2 separate regions of the Homo sapiens genome follow, and region 1 is linked to region 2. Evidence: promoter capture Hi-C in 16 types of primary human blood cells and fetal thymus (Javierre and others, 2016). All regions are on one chromosome and are shown on one strand. Each heading gives the region's core, a stretch centred on a gene start or on the middle of the fragment in contact. The rest is flanking DNA. Distances are from core to core; before and after follow the strand shown.

Region 1 (7,326 bases), core at 1,140-3,639, 5.8 Mb before region 2:
CATAATTACATGTCTCTTCTCTAATCTAGACATAGTTTCTTAATGCAATTTAAATTGCTTAATGATTTATTTTGTTCAGTCTTCACAGGGAACAAATTAGAAACTTTCTCCCATTTCTTTTAGATATATCAGGACAGAATGCTTAGTCATGTTTAATAAAGAATTTAACGCAAACTTTTTACATTACAGATTATACTACTATTACTTGATTTAAGGGTAATATATGACTGTACTCTACATGGGAAAAGTGGAAAACATAGAGTAAATTAGAATCCGTTTGTTCTTGCCCCAAGCTGCCTATCTTAGAGCATTAAATTACAATGAATTAAAGATCTACTTAGTTCCAAGCACCATTCATTCATTTAGCAAATATTTACTGAACGCCTACTATATGGTGAGCTCTGTTCAAGGGGCTGGAGATAGAAAAATCCAAGCAAAGTCCCTGCCCTTAAAAAGTCTAGTGGGAAGAAACAGGCAATTAAAAAAAATACATTAGGGGGTGATAAGGGTTATGTAAACAGGTAGCTGCCACCACCACAGAGACTATCAGTTCTGGAAATACATTATTCAAGATTAGTTTGGCTACACATAACAGAAAAGTCCAATATAGTACAGACTTATACAATGCAGAATTTATTTCTCGTGTAAGTCTTGAGATAGGTGGTTATGGCAAGTTAGCAGATTATCAGAGGCCCAGGCCCCTTCTATAGTCCACATCCTTAGCAGGTGGCTTTAATCCTTATGTTCCAGGACAGATGCTGGAACTCCAGGAATCCTATCATCATCTAGACAGCAGGATGGAGAAACAAAGAAGGGTGGACCGTCTTCCTTTTAAAGAGATGTAAGAATCGGCTGGGCACGGAGGCTCACGCCTGTAATCTCAGCACTTTAGGAGGCTGAGGTGGGTGGATCATCTGAGGTCGGGAGTTCGAGACCAGCCTGACCAACATGCAGAAACCCCGTCTCCACTAAAAATACAAAATTAGCCAGGCGTGGTGGCGCATGCCTGTAATCCCAGCTACTCAGGAAGGCTGAGGCAGGGGAATTGCTTGAACATGGGAGGTGGAGGTTATGGTGAGCCGAGATTGCGCCATTGCACTCCAGCCTGGGCAATAAGAGTGAAATTTCTTCTCAAAAAATAAAAATAAAATTAATCAGAAAAAATAAGATACATCAGTAGCAATCACAATGCAGTTCTTTATGACCAGATAGCAACCTCTATGTACCTACTAATCTCGTCTTCAATGGACACAATTCCTTACGTTAAAAAGAATCTAATGTACCAATTTAAACTTGCATTTATTATATTAAGGCAATAGTCATGATTAGAAGGAAGGCAAAAAAAAATTATTCCCATATTAGGAAGATGAAGTATGTCTGTTACCGGGGCAAACTATCAAACTGAATTTCAAAACTGACAGGCTCTCCCTGAAGTCCTAGAGAGGATCTTGTGTTCACTAATTCAGATGTTGCAAGTATTCTAGTTCCCAGGTAACTCCTAGTAAAACCAAGACTGAACAAAGATATTTCTCATCTTTAAATTTAGAATCATCTCATCGATTAAACCTTCCTATCTATGAGATCTATATCTGAAGTGGGCTCTCCCAATTATTTTACATCTCAAAACTGTTTATTCTCATTATGGCATCTTAAATATTTTTGTTTATTCTTTCTCCTCCATTAGCTTACAGGCTCTCTCTGTTTTGTTCCCTTTCCTGAAGGAAACTATAATTTTTTGTGTCAAAAATATTTTCTCCTATGAGTTGCAATCTTCAGGGAAAGGACGTAGCTTCAAACAAAGGCAAATGCTTTCTCCTTAGCCAAAGTAACATAAAGGTCACTTTCTGTAAAACATCAGGATATTGCATTTTAAAATGCTTTCCATATAACATTAGTTTGATGAACGGCTTAGCCTAGGATTCTGCACCTAGTTCCAATCAAAACCAAGTTGTGAACAGATCCCTTCTTTACACCAATCTCATCTTTCAAGAACGAGCTAAAGGTTCATGAATTCCTTCCTCAAGAGGCAGTTACTTTTCAAGCTAAGGACCAAGCTTGAAACAAGCATATACCTGCACAAGGGAGGTTTAATTTCACTACAGAGCGAATCATTTTTTCAAGGAAACCAGAGGGTGTGTCATACAGCATCACTGAATATTCTAATATGCGATGAAGCTGTTATGCTTCCTTATGAACTTTATAAATCTTCATTTTTATGAGGCTTAGAATTCATCCCCCTTCCCTCTTCCACTGTTTTCCCGGGGTCACAGTTGTAGTATAGTTTGCCCAATGGATTTCGCATGGTCATTGTACCTGGAATATGTCACGCTCCCTACTCTTACTGCCCCCAAACTCTTCTCAGCAGAGATAGGCTGAAAGCAGCTCGCTTTTAGGCGGCGACGCAAACACACGTAGCCAGCTGAGCGACAGCAAGCAACCAAATGGCTTTGCTGGAGGCCCCCTGCGTGCACGGGTAAAGCTCGTTGCAAAATACAGTCCTTTCATTTATTCCCATGTTGCTATTTATGAGACCTGTCAAGGCTGCAAGGGCATGCGCAGCCTTCCCACCACACAGGACCCGCTGGGGTCTCCGGCTCCCCTAAAATTAAACCATTGTCTCTCGTTCCAACGGCGTGTTTAGCTGTTGTGCGTTATTTTACAGATAAAGGAAGGATCCCGTCCACAGACCCAATTCTTAGGGCCGCCTTCTCCCCGACGGAGGAAGAAGCTTCCTGGCAAAAGGACGAACAGGTGCGACGCCAGCAGTTCGCAGCCTCTCACCTGGCCGGCGGGCTGGGCTACTGTCACCACTCAGCAGCCAAGGACTTGGGCCCCGCAGCGGCGGCCACTCGGGGTCTGCCGGGTCCCCTCTCTTTCCGCCTGCTCTCGGCCCCGGACCCCAGACTCAAAAGCGCCTCACGCGTTCCGCCTTAGGCTCACCGTCCGATCTCGCCAGACAGCGTCTGGACGGGACCGGGAAACGGCGGCCGCCACAGCTGTCCAGGTTCTGGGATCCACGCTCAGAGACGACAGCGCTGGCGATCACCAGAAGGCCTGCGGGCTCCCGAGAAAGGAAAATCCGTCTACAGTCCAGCGGCTGACATTTCCCAGTCAGCCGTAGCGCCGCCCGCTTCCGCCTCCCCGCCTACCCCGTGGGCCGACCAGTCCCGCTCCCGCGGGGGGTTGTGGGTATCTCGAAGGCGGGTAAAGCTGCAAGGGAAGGAAGTAAGGGCGAGCCCGTCGGACTACGAAGCGGGACGGAAACTACAATTCCCAGCAGGCCTTGGGCCTCAGTGCGGCCGCGAAGCAGAGCGGGCTGTAGAGCCTTGCGCGCGCAGTGGGGATGGAACGTTGCTAGGCTTAGCGGGTCTGGCTGCTGGGGGCCCGAGCAGCACGCTCGGAGCCGCCGCGCGCCAAAGCGGGAATCTGGGAGGCGAGCAGCTCTGCAGTTAATGCACGTATTTTAAACTCCCGGGCCTGCGGACGCTATGCACAGGTAAACGGATTGCAAAAAGGGGAAGAGCATGAAATGGACCCTCTTAATAATTCTTTTAGGCCGCGAATATCGCTACTGGCTAATATTGTTAGTAATGCTGTTAAGTGAATGGTTGCTTAGCCCCTTCTTGGGGAAAGTGTGAATGGATGGATGCCTTAGTGCGGGGATCAGCGTGTGGTTTTATTTGGCTTCCCTAATTGGGCTTTTCTGCCACCGTTTTCAATCAGTGTATGATTGCCCTGTCTCTCTCCTTGTCTGTTCCCTCCACTGGGAGAAATTCTTGAGGCCTTCTGCAGGATCGTAAGTCAAAAAGCCTTCTCGATTTGTTCTTTTCATTTCTTCGTTTTCTTGGTAACTCGCCGCAGGCACATAAAAAATGCGATTCTGTTAGCTGCTGTGAAGGTTTCCTACAATGCATAAACTGCAGCTTCTTTAATTGCCTTGAAATTATTTATGGGTGTGTTTTCGAAAGGAACCGGGGGTATTGTGCACTTCTGCAGGAAGCACCTCCAGGAGATTCCAGACCTGAGTAGCAACGTTGCCACCAGCTTCACGTGGGGATGGGATTCCAGCAAGACTTCTGAACTGCTGTCAGGCATGGGGGTCTCCGCCCTGGAGAAAGAGGAGCCCGACAGTGAGAACATCCCCCAGGAACTGCTCTCAAACCTGGGCCACCCGGAGAGCCCCCCACGGAAACGGCTGAAGAGCAAAGGGAGTGACAAAGACTTTGTGATTGTCCGCAGGCCTAAGCTAAATCGAGAGAACTTTCCAGGTAAGGACATGAGGGTAAAAATGTCAGTTATGCAAAGGGTGGATTTAGCTATGTTGTTGGGAAACCTTTGTTCAGAGATCTTTAGCATGGGTTCCTTTTAAGATTGCCTAATTCTGAAGCTATTTTTCAACAAAATAGGGCAAGTCGTCAAGTATGCAGGAATCTTGGTAGATATATATATATATATATATATATATATATGTATGTTCTGGTGCATAATCACCTTGAAAATTTTAACCCATGAGAAGACATTCCTGCCTTTTTCCTTAGAAGGGAATCTGCCTGCCTCAAGGCCAGCTCAGTTTCACCGTTTAACAGAAACATAAACAGTGGTCTTCTTGTAGGATTCCTTTTGCTTTGTACCCCTGAGTGATCTTTTTGCCTTAATCACTTTAGTTATTTATCAGTGGACTGCGAAGTGAACGTTCACCTAAGTGGGGGAGACATCTCCCCAGGCCCACTCCCACCCCCATATTGGCTTCTCCTGGTATGTTCTGTCTCCATTACTGCTGACACTATCTGTTTAATCACCCAACCCGAAAACCTGAGAGTCAGTCAGCTTCCCACCGCCCCCCAACATCCAGTCATTCATCGCATCTTTCCCTCTTCTCTGGTAACTATTTCTCAAGTTCTCGTCGTCTCTTGCCTGAACTATTGGAGTGGATTCATAATTCCAACCTTCTTCTCCCCAGATCTATCCCCCGAACTAGAATGGATTGACTGAAATGTAGAACTTACTGTATCTTCCCTCCTTAATAGCTCCCCATCCCCTAGTTCCTCAAGCAGGCGAACGAGTGCCTCCCAGAGTGAACCAGAACCCTGGAGTATGCAAAAGCCATAGGATAAACAGGGCATTGACCTGGGGTTATCAGTTTTTCTTACTAGTAAGCTATTTAAAACAGTAATACAGCAAATATTTGCTGAGCACATACCATGTGCTAGGCCGTGTTCCAGGTGCTGGAGATAGAGGAGTGGGCACAACAAACATTTCTGCTCTCAGGGAGCATCCATTCTAGTGAGAGAATACAATAAACACAATAACTATTTTTATATAGTATGTTAGAAGGTGATAAGAGCTATGGCTAAAAACAAAAATAGAACAAGCCAAGAGGGAATGCAGGTCTTGGGGTGGGAAGATAGAGTGCACTTTTAAACCAGGTATTGAGAGAAAGCCTCAATTGGACAGTGACCTTTAAGCAAAGACATAAAGGAGGCAAGGAGTGTGCCATGCAAATATCTTGGAGAAAAGAGCTCCAAGCAGAAGGAACAGCCACTGCAAAGACCCTGGTGCATAAATGTGACGTATTTGTTCCAGGAACAGGGAAGCCATATTCTAAGAGTGGAATGAGCGAAAGGGAGAGTCGGGGGAGATCAGGCTGGAGGTAATGTTGAGCAGAGTTGTGATGGGACCTGATTTAACCTTCTAAAAATGACACACTGATGTGTTGAGACTCAGCTGCAGGGGCATCAAGGGTAGAAACTTAGGGTCTTTTTTAAATTTCATATTTTCAAGACGGAGTCTTGCTCTGTTGCCCAGGCTGGAATGCAGTGACCTGCTCTTGGCTCACTGTCTTCACCTGGATTCGAACGATTCTCCTGCCTCAGCCTCCTAAGTAACTGAGACTACAGGCATGCACCACCACGCCCAGCAATTTTTTTATTTTTTGTAGAGATGGAGGTTGCGGGGGCGTTCTCACCATCTTGCCCAGGCTGGTCTCAAACTCCTGGACTCAGGCGATCCTCCAGCCTTGGCCTCCCAAAGTGCTGGGATTACAGGCATGAGCCACCACACCTGGCCAAAGCTTGAAGTCTTGTTGGGGGTGAGGGTGGTCAGATTCCGGATATATTCCCACATTAAAGTCAACAGAATTTAGGAGGCTGTTGAAATCATCTGTGGAAGAGGTGATCAGAGTCTAAATTGAAATCAGGTGGGGGATGATGGCGAAGAAGAAACAGATTAAACATTTAAAGATGAAGTCTTGCAGACCCAAGGTAATTTAAGTATATTCATAAATTCTCCCATCTGGTTTCCTTTGCAGAAGGGTTGATAGATTGGTTGTTTAGTTGATTGGTTGGTTGCTCGCTTTGGCAGCACATATACTGAAACTGGAAATACAGAGAAGATTAGCATGGCCCCTGCGCAGGAAGACATGCGGATTCGAGATGCATTCCACTTTTAATTAAGAAAATAAATACGTTTGTTTTCAGCCTTTTCTTTAGGAAAGAGAACTTTGCCCAATTTATGGTCTGGGAATATACATCAGGAATTGGATTAGTTAGAAAAGCAGTAGAGGGTTGTAGTGAAGTCAGATCTGGGTTTGAATCCTCATTCTTGCGTTTATCAGCCTTGGAAAGTTATTCGAGCTTTCTTTGCCTTAGTTCCTTTATCTGTGAAATGGAGTGCTGTAATAATACCCACTTCACAGGTCGTCGTGAAGATTAAATGAGAATGACGTAAAACCCTTAGCATGCCACTGACACGTAACAATACATAAGCCAACAAAATTCCTGACACCAATTTTGGAGGCTAGTGGACTTTTATCTTTTGTTTTTAATATTGTTACTCTGACCCTGTTAGTATAAAATTTTTTTTCTTCAAAATTTAATGTTCACCGCTCTTCTTTGTGTCTGGAATGTAGCCCTAACAATCTGGTGCTTGACCAACCAAATATGGCGAAAGATACTTCCTGCTAAGATGAACAGATTTTTATTAACCTGTCCAGTGCCGATAGCTTTTGACATAGAGTGTGATTGCTATATGCCCTTCCACAAGTGAAAAAGAATTTTTTTTAAGCAAGGCACTGTGGGAACAAGACAGAAGTTTCCGGAGTCTTTGCTATTTCCCAGGAATTTGCAAGTCAAGTTGAGGAGAAAATACAATAAAAAATAAGAGCTGTGATTCCCATTCAGGTGGATGTGGAAGATCTTCCTCCTTCCACTCAGCAAGAAAGGAGATTCTGAGGAAAGAGAGGGCTCTGAAAATGGTGTAATCAGTGTCTTGATGGTTAAAGCTGACTTCAAAAGTATATATCTGAAGGGAGAGAGAAAGAATGGTGAC
Region 2 (7,572 bases), core at 233-2,732:
CTTGTAGAAGATTCAGAAGGCATCAGGTGTAACCTTCTGCTCTTTTCTCTATCCATTGCTGGCTCCCTACTTTCATTTTGAATTTATCCCTATTTCCCTATTTTTCCCCCTTTGTGTACAGATACGATCATTCTCCACCCTACCTTCCAGCACTTGCCCCTCTTCAACTACCACCTTCTCCATCCCTTGTTGAGAAAGCCTTCTCTCAACTTCTTGTTTATACTTAGATTCTTTTTTTCCTCACCTACAATTCCCACACTATTGAATAATTGTCTACTCCCACAGACCACATCATATCCCCTTGCCATCTTGCTTGTTGACAAGAGTGCATATGTGCCAGGCACTGTATGAGGCACCAAGGACACAAAATACATGATTCCTGTCCTCTATATTTAGGGTGAATTGTCAGAAGAAACTGGTATTACAAAGGTCAGTTAGAGAGTCATTGTGGTCAATCACTTATAAATCACAATACACTTTTTCTCTATTTTTAGTATTTTTCTATTACATATAAAAAACTACCTTCCATGAGAAACAATAGGATGGAGATTATTCAAGATATAGTGTGTCAAACTGAGAAATGAATACACAGAGTTAACGATTTGTTTGACCAGAGGCAAGAAAGCATTCACAGAATGCAAAGTGAAGTTAGACTTGCTGACTGAGTGCTTTGAAACTCCCGATTGAGAGGATGAACCTCATGCACAATTAGCGCCTTAAGGGAAGGTCTTGAGATGAAAGAAAAATGAAAATAGTTTTGTGGCCGCAGAATTTACTACCACTGGACGCAAGATGTCTAAAGTACTTTAAATGTGAACTCCAAGGGAGGTCAGAGATAAATTCGACTGCTAAAAATCAGATTTACAAAAGCAATATTCAACCATGTAGACTGGCAACTCCACTAGTGTTTGGAGCTCCCCATCCAGATGTACAACAAACTCTTGGAGACTTGGATGTGTTACACAGGGGGCCGGTCGGGTTTCCATTTAGGACCAGGAGATTATAATCACTTTATTTTAGCAACCTCCTTACTACAAGGCCAAAACTGACAGTCCTCTCTCCAGACCCTCGCGTCCGCCCTCCAGACTGTGCTTCCCGCGCCGGACAGGGAAGTGGGAGTGCGGACGACAATCCGCATCCTGCCAGCCAGACGTCACCAAGCTGTCTTCCAAGAGGCAGGCGGAGAGAGCTGACTTCCGATTGGGTCAGCCGAGGGGCACGGCTGGCTCCCTATTGGCTTACAGGAGGGGGCTAGAGAGAGGCGTGTCTCAACGTCACACCCGCCCCTAGTCTCCTTGCTGCTCAGGATTATGGGAGGGAAGGGAAGTCCAGGAGGGAAAAATGACCCGGAAAGACCTTTGCCGGCCTGGGCCAGCCCTCTTCCGGAGCTGATGTCTCCTCCCACCAACCAGGAGAGGTCCGCCCTAGGCCCCGCCCGTGCCGGGGGATCAGGTGATTGCGGGCCAACACGGTCACGTGACCGGGGCGCACCCGCCGATTGTGGCCATGGCGGCCGCAGTCTCTAGTGTGGTGAGACGAGTGGAAGAGCTCGGGGATCTGGCTCAGGCCCACATACAGCAACTTAGCGAAGCTGCCGGTGAAGATGGTGAGGGAGCGGAGGAGAGGGAGGCGGGCGGGGCAGACGGCGCTAAGGTACTGGCGCTCGATGGCTGTGAGGGCTAGAGGCTGAGGCCTGTGTTCCTTTGGGTCCCAGGCCGCAGGTGGTTACCCGAGGTCTGTCGCTTCTGAGCCCCTCTGCGCCATCGATTGCCCACTTCCCAGAACTCACAATGCCAAGGCGTTGTCTTCGAAAACCGCATTATTCAGAACCCATGGAAAATCTGTCTAGATCCGTGCTGGTGTAAACTGTCTCGGTAGCGATTGGAAGAAGGGCAGAATCTAAATAAAATACAGAAGTTTAAATAAATGGCTAAGATGAATGATAACACTCAAATTAGTTATGGTGGTTTGCATCCTGTAAAGATAAAAAGACATGTATAACAGTTCCACTTTTTCATTGCTGCGTTGTAATTTGCGTTTTACGTTTTGGATTCAAAACAACATTCTATAGAAGAGCTTTACATTGGTGTGTAGACTATTCTGCCCCATACATCATGCCAGTTCTCACAAGGGCTCTGTTAAGTATTGGCATACTTGTTTTGGAAAGGTCTAAGCTGTTAGGAAAAACTGGGCTAGGGAATTGCCTCAACCTTCTGAATTTAAGTCCAATTCTTTTCATTACGTCTCAGCTGCCTTTAGGTTCTACATTATTCCTTTTTGAGTTTGAGCAATTACTACAGATAGTTTTTAAAATTCTGTGGACTGACTCATATCATCGGACTCATAGGAAAACAGTGGTGGAACATTTTCTTAAGCGATTGAATAGTTGGTGAATTTGTTATTAAATAGGGTCTATGATGAAATGCCTTAGTTTCAGTGAATATTTTTTGCCAGATTATCATTTATCAGGAGTGTTTTGTTTTGTTTTGTTTTTAGAGGCAGAGTATCATTCTGTTGCTCAGGCTGGAGCCCCTCTAGTAGTGGGACAACAGGCGCACACCATCTCGCCCGGCTAACTTTGGCATATTTTGTAGAAACGGGGTTCACCATGTCATCCAGGTTGGTCCTGAACTCCTGGGCTCAAGCATTCCACCCGCTTTGGCTTCCCAAAGTGCTGGGATTACAGGCGTGAGCCACTGTGCCAGGCCAGGAGTGTGTTCTTTAAAGACCTACAGACCACCCTGAAGCCGACTTATATTTTGGTCTGTGGATTCACATGAATAATTCTTGGGTAGTAGGAGCTATTAACTTGAAAGTTATCTATGTTACCTCTAATTCCAGATTCACTTGAACCAGTCCAAAGAGACCAAAGAATGTTTTTTATTCACTTATCACTGAACTAAAAAGCCATTCTCATTTCCCTTGGAAGAGTTCTTTAATCTGGAATGAATCAGAGCTGGAAATAAAAGTCATGTGCTATATATGGAATTCTTGTTTGAAGGCTTTATACTTCTGAAAATTTACTAAAATAAAATGACAATGTTAGTGGTCCACATTATGAGCCGTTGATCAGCATGGAAATCAGTTCAATCTTAAAAATATTACAAGATTTATGAACTTTAATTAAAACAAGATTTCATGTACTTGAATTGAATTTGGCATTATTTTTCCACGCAACAAGAATAATATACATTCAAACTTTGTTCTTTAATGTAATGAGTATATATTTATACTAGGATATAAGGGTTTGATGATTTCCATTGTCTTCTTCAGATTAGATGAGATACAGCCAGACATTATTTCATCTAAGAATGCGTCTTTAAATTTCTAGCCAATTTTTGTTAATTTATTTCTCATCATACAAGCACAATCTGTTTACTCTATGGAAGTACGTCATGAGGGAGTTTTTCCACAGATTATATAAGAATCAGTTTCATCTTTTGCTTTGCCAGTCATTACTTTGACTAAATAGTTCTAGTCAAAATACTGCATTTTATGGGCTTTTCCAAAGTGTGAGTTATGCCACCACCACACCCCTGCCACAGTAATTATGTCATCAATTTATGTGACATACTCTTTCAGCAATGGTTTAGTGAGTTCAATGCAAATCTTTACATTGAAAATAATCCTGCAAGTTAAACAAAATATCAACACACTCTCTAAAGAAGCACCTAAGGCATGTCATATTCCATGTAATTTCAGTTTATAGTAGAATCTTTTTCTACATTGTGTGGATGTCACTTCTGGGCTAATGAGAGGTGGAAGGACAGTGCTAAGAAGTAGATTTCAACTCAAGTGAAAGTGGATCTTACAGCAGTCAAAATGCAATCTCAGGCTTTACCTGAGAAGACTTAAGGCAGCAGTCACATGATTGCCAACAGACATAACCTGATGGTGCTTTTGCTCCAACAATGAACACCTTATCTGTGTAACTCCTGAGGCTGGATCAGGTAGGCCTACACCAAATGCTACACTATCTGTTCATTGGCCCATGAAGAAGAAAGGGATATATTTTAGAATATCAGACTATGTTTCAGAAGGGAAGCACTGAGAGGTAAACTCAGAGAGTTTAGTGTCTTGATTATGGGTGTATCTAAATTTGACTTCATGAAGTGCTGCAGAAGGGTGGATAGTACCTTGAAGTGGACACATAAGAAAAGGTGAAATCACAGAAGCAACAAAGGGATTATGACATTAGAGAAAGGGAAAAAAAATCAGGAGATGGTGAAGGCGGAGGGAGGGTGAATTGTGATTAGAGGACTTATTAGAAGTATTTAGTTCCTTTTCTTCCAGGTTTTGAGGAAATGAGGTAATTTGTTTCTAAGTTTTTAAAGGAATTAAATACACAGATGTATTATGTAATTTTAATTGTAGTAGATATAAACAATTATAAAATTGCTCATAATGCTGGCATTTTGTAAGGAATTTGATTTGGTCAATCATGGTCTTTTGAATAACATTTGCAACTACATTTATGAAATCTTAAGTTTTCAGTGGAAGCCCTTTCTGTATATTTATGTATATTATTTGTATATTCCAGTAAGTTTTAAATTTGTTTAATTATTTTGAGTGCATTATCATAAAAGAAGCATAATGAGAATACAGACTGCATTTAAGAAATGGCAAGAGTGACTCTAGAAAGTTTTCAGTATTTTGCTTTGTAGGAAAAATTTTCATGATAAATTTACTTAATTAGGATTAGGCATTATGAGATATTTCATGTTTTAGATAAGATATTATTACTATAATTCTGTTTCTCCATATGTCATAATATTATTTCATCTTGTCATTTCATCTTCATACATAATGTGTTTTTTGTTTAAATAACACTCTGAAACTAGGTGAAGTAATCCTCATGTTTTTATTTCTTATAGATCACTTTTTAATTCGGGCCTCTGCAGCATTAGAAAAATTGAAACTCCTGTGTGGAGAAGAGAAAGAATGTTCAAATCCATCAAATCTTCTAGAACTTTACACACAGGTACTGAAAGAGTGGTGGACTCTGGCATTTTATGAGGGCAGGTTGTTTATTTAGATGATTGACTCCAACTTTAGGTAAAATGAAATCAGTTTATTCTATATTTCAAGTGTTTAATTTTGTCCAAAAAACTATGAATAAAACACAAAAACTTAAAACTTTGAGGTAGTATGAAAAGAAGTAAGATTTATTAGATGTGTTAATAAGAAAAGTCAGGAAGAAAATCTTACAGATAACGGAATTGTTTTCCTTTAGAGATAATTGAACAGGACACTAGTGTGTGCAATGTCCAATCTCTTGAAAGTTTCAGAGGGAGCAGGGGAGTATATAAGGGCCCTGACTTTTTTTTTTTCCCCTGAAATTTACCTTCCCTAGGATTCTCAATATTATTCTCCCTGCTAGTGTCATGCATATCTATGTGATTTTTCTATTCACCCACTTTTTTTTTTAACTTTCCTTTCCAAATCAGGCTGCTGTGTGGACAACACCTTTTTTTCTTGGTTTTCTGAAACACTGCTGAGGCATGCTAACATCAAGAAATGTAATTTTATTATGGTAACTAACATCTATATAGCACTTTGTAGTTGATAGAGTGTTTTCATGTGCCCTTTTTGGATTGCTAAGGGATAATAAAACTGAAGTGGTTACAGAAAGTACAGTACACTTAGTTAGGCTTCCAAAGTGCCCATTTATAGCATTTAAATGCTTGGTGCTGTTCTTCCTGTTAGGAAATTTCTAAAGATAGCTTCTGCCTTCAAACACCATGGATGAGTAAGCCTAACAGCTACTCACAAACCACAGAGAACTGTTTTAAGTTTGGCAGGTATTTTGCTTGGTTTTCTTTCTGTTCAGAAGACTCTGTGCTTGTCTGTATGTGTTTTATGTCATCTCATTTTTTTCACGAGAGTGTTCCAGACATTTTAACTTACTGGAATAAGGCAAAAGACCTAGAGATACAGATTTCAATTTTAAGATCCTCTTAAACCCTATTGATGGTTCTGAATCAACAGATCACCTTTCATATGATGATGAAATCATATATGATGATCTCTCCTTACTGGCTTAGGCCTTTCGCACGATAACATTTACTCCTCATGTTCACAGAAAGTAAAGCACTAACTGGGTGCTAGGTAACGTTTCTAGTACCTTACATATGTTAATTAATTTTTTACTCCAACAAGGAACTTTGAAAGGTATTTTAGTCCAATTTATCATTTAGCCAATTAAGAAACTGAGGCTCAAAAAAGGTAAAATTGACTTGTCTTTGGTTAGTTAAGTGATTAGTGGTAGAACTGACCCTAGAACCCAGTTTCCTTAGTCTTAGTTCAATAGATTAAAAAAGGAAAAAGGATTGGGGAGTTTTAATATGCTTTAACAGCATCTCTAATAATTAGGAATACTGGGGGCTTAGTGTTTGAGTTGCATATGTTGATGGTATGCTTCCTCTATTGGGTGGCAGGATACATACGCCCCTCACGCTGGCTCTGTATTTGGGAACACAAATCCTTTGAAGGTTCAAAACTGGAAGTAGTGACCTTAACTTGATACAGCAGGCATTTAGAAAATTTTCAGGGGTTATATAAGTAGTAGAATATAATAATTACCTTTTTCATAATTATATATGATTAAATTCTGTAAATTAAAACAAAGCTCTATTTTCTTTTTTGAGGGAAAGAAAGATTATCATTAATTCAGCACTTTAGTGAAATACCTATGAAGTTTTCTTTAAAATCTTTCTCAAATTATATTTACATCTAGACATTTTGCCTACTTCTCAAATTTACATACTGAGCTAGAAGATTTAAATGTGTAATAAAGCACCTATGTGTGCAAGGTTAGACTGTAAGAATTGTTTTTTTTCAATTTTAAGTCATTGATAGATATCTTTCTTTTTTTTTTTTTTTAGGCTATTTTGGACATGACATATTTTGAGGAGAACAAGCTAGTAGATGAAGATTTTCCTGAAGACTCTTCTTCACAGAAAGTAAAAGAGCTGATTAGTTTTCTTTCAGAACCAGAAATTTTAGTAAAGGAAAATAATATGCATCCAAAAGTAAGTTTTACATTCCTGTTAATTATGATGGAATATTGCTGGTACTTGCTGTCCTGCTTTTTGGAGTCTATATTTTTTTCTTCTTGATTGTATCTTTGTTTCTTAAATTAAGATTGGAAGAGGGAGATAAAAGAGCTTAACACTTCAGACCAATGTTGCAACAAAAGTATCATATTTTACTAAATGTATTTCAGAATATTTGCATAATAGAATTGTAATAGCTGTGCCTAATCATTTTTTTTAATATAGATATTCCCATTTCGACCCCCTTTACTTTTGCAGATGCTGTTTTCTTGAAGGTCACTATTAATCTAATTACCACGTCTGTTCTTACAGTCCTTATTCTCTCGAACATTTGCTCCCCTTCTTAATGTTGATCACCCCCTCCCTCTGAGACCCTGCATGCTTCTTTTCCACTTCTTCATCTCTGAAATGTCTTCTCTTGCTAGCAACTGTTCTGCCTTCCATTCTAGAAACACAGGTACTAGCCAGGGATGTCTCTTTCATCACCGATAGTCTCTATTCTGTCTTTGCTTGATAA

Evidence for each region. The method cuts DNA at HindIII sites, captures the fragments that hold promoters and counts their contacts. A CHiCAGO score of 5 or more calls a contact.
Region 1: a fragment that was not itself captured here is called in contact with the fragment with the promoter of RIMOC1 in region 2 in 3 of 17 cell types (fetal thymus, naive CD8 T cells and neutrophils); the score reaches 6.6 in fetal thymus.

The regions. Positions count from the first base shown.
Region 1 is chr5:36,148,775-36,156,100 of GRCh38, forward strand. It overlaps LMBRD2 (LMBR1 domain containing 2), which reads right to left and starts at 3,113. Exons shown (of 18, transcript NM_001007527.2): 1 at 2,782-3,113. It overlaps SKP2 (S-phase kinase associated protein 2), which reads left to right and starts at 3,337. Exons shown (of 10, transcript NM_005983.4): 1 at 3,337-3,496; 2 at 3,997-4,268. The coding sequence starts at 3,489. It also overlaps the pseudogene RNU6-1305P. RefSeq lists silencers at 2,384-2,443, 3,044-3,183 and enhancers at 2,397-3,380, 3,454-3,643. The HindIII fragment of the contact is 674 bases long and covers 2,053-2,726 here.
Region 2 is chr5:41,902,862-41,910,433 of GRCh38, forward strand. It overlaps RIMOC1 (RAB7A interacting MON1-CCZ1 complex subunit 1), which reads left to right and starts at 1,483. Exons shown (of 6, transcript NM_175921.6): 1 at 1,483-1,606; 2 at 4,875-4,981; 3 at 6,885-7,031. The coding sequence starts at 1,507. RefSeq lists enhancers at 916-1,055, 1,167-1,713, 1,466-1,585. The HindIII fragment of the contact is 10,560 bases long and covers 1-7,572 here.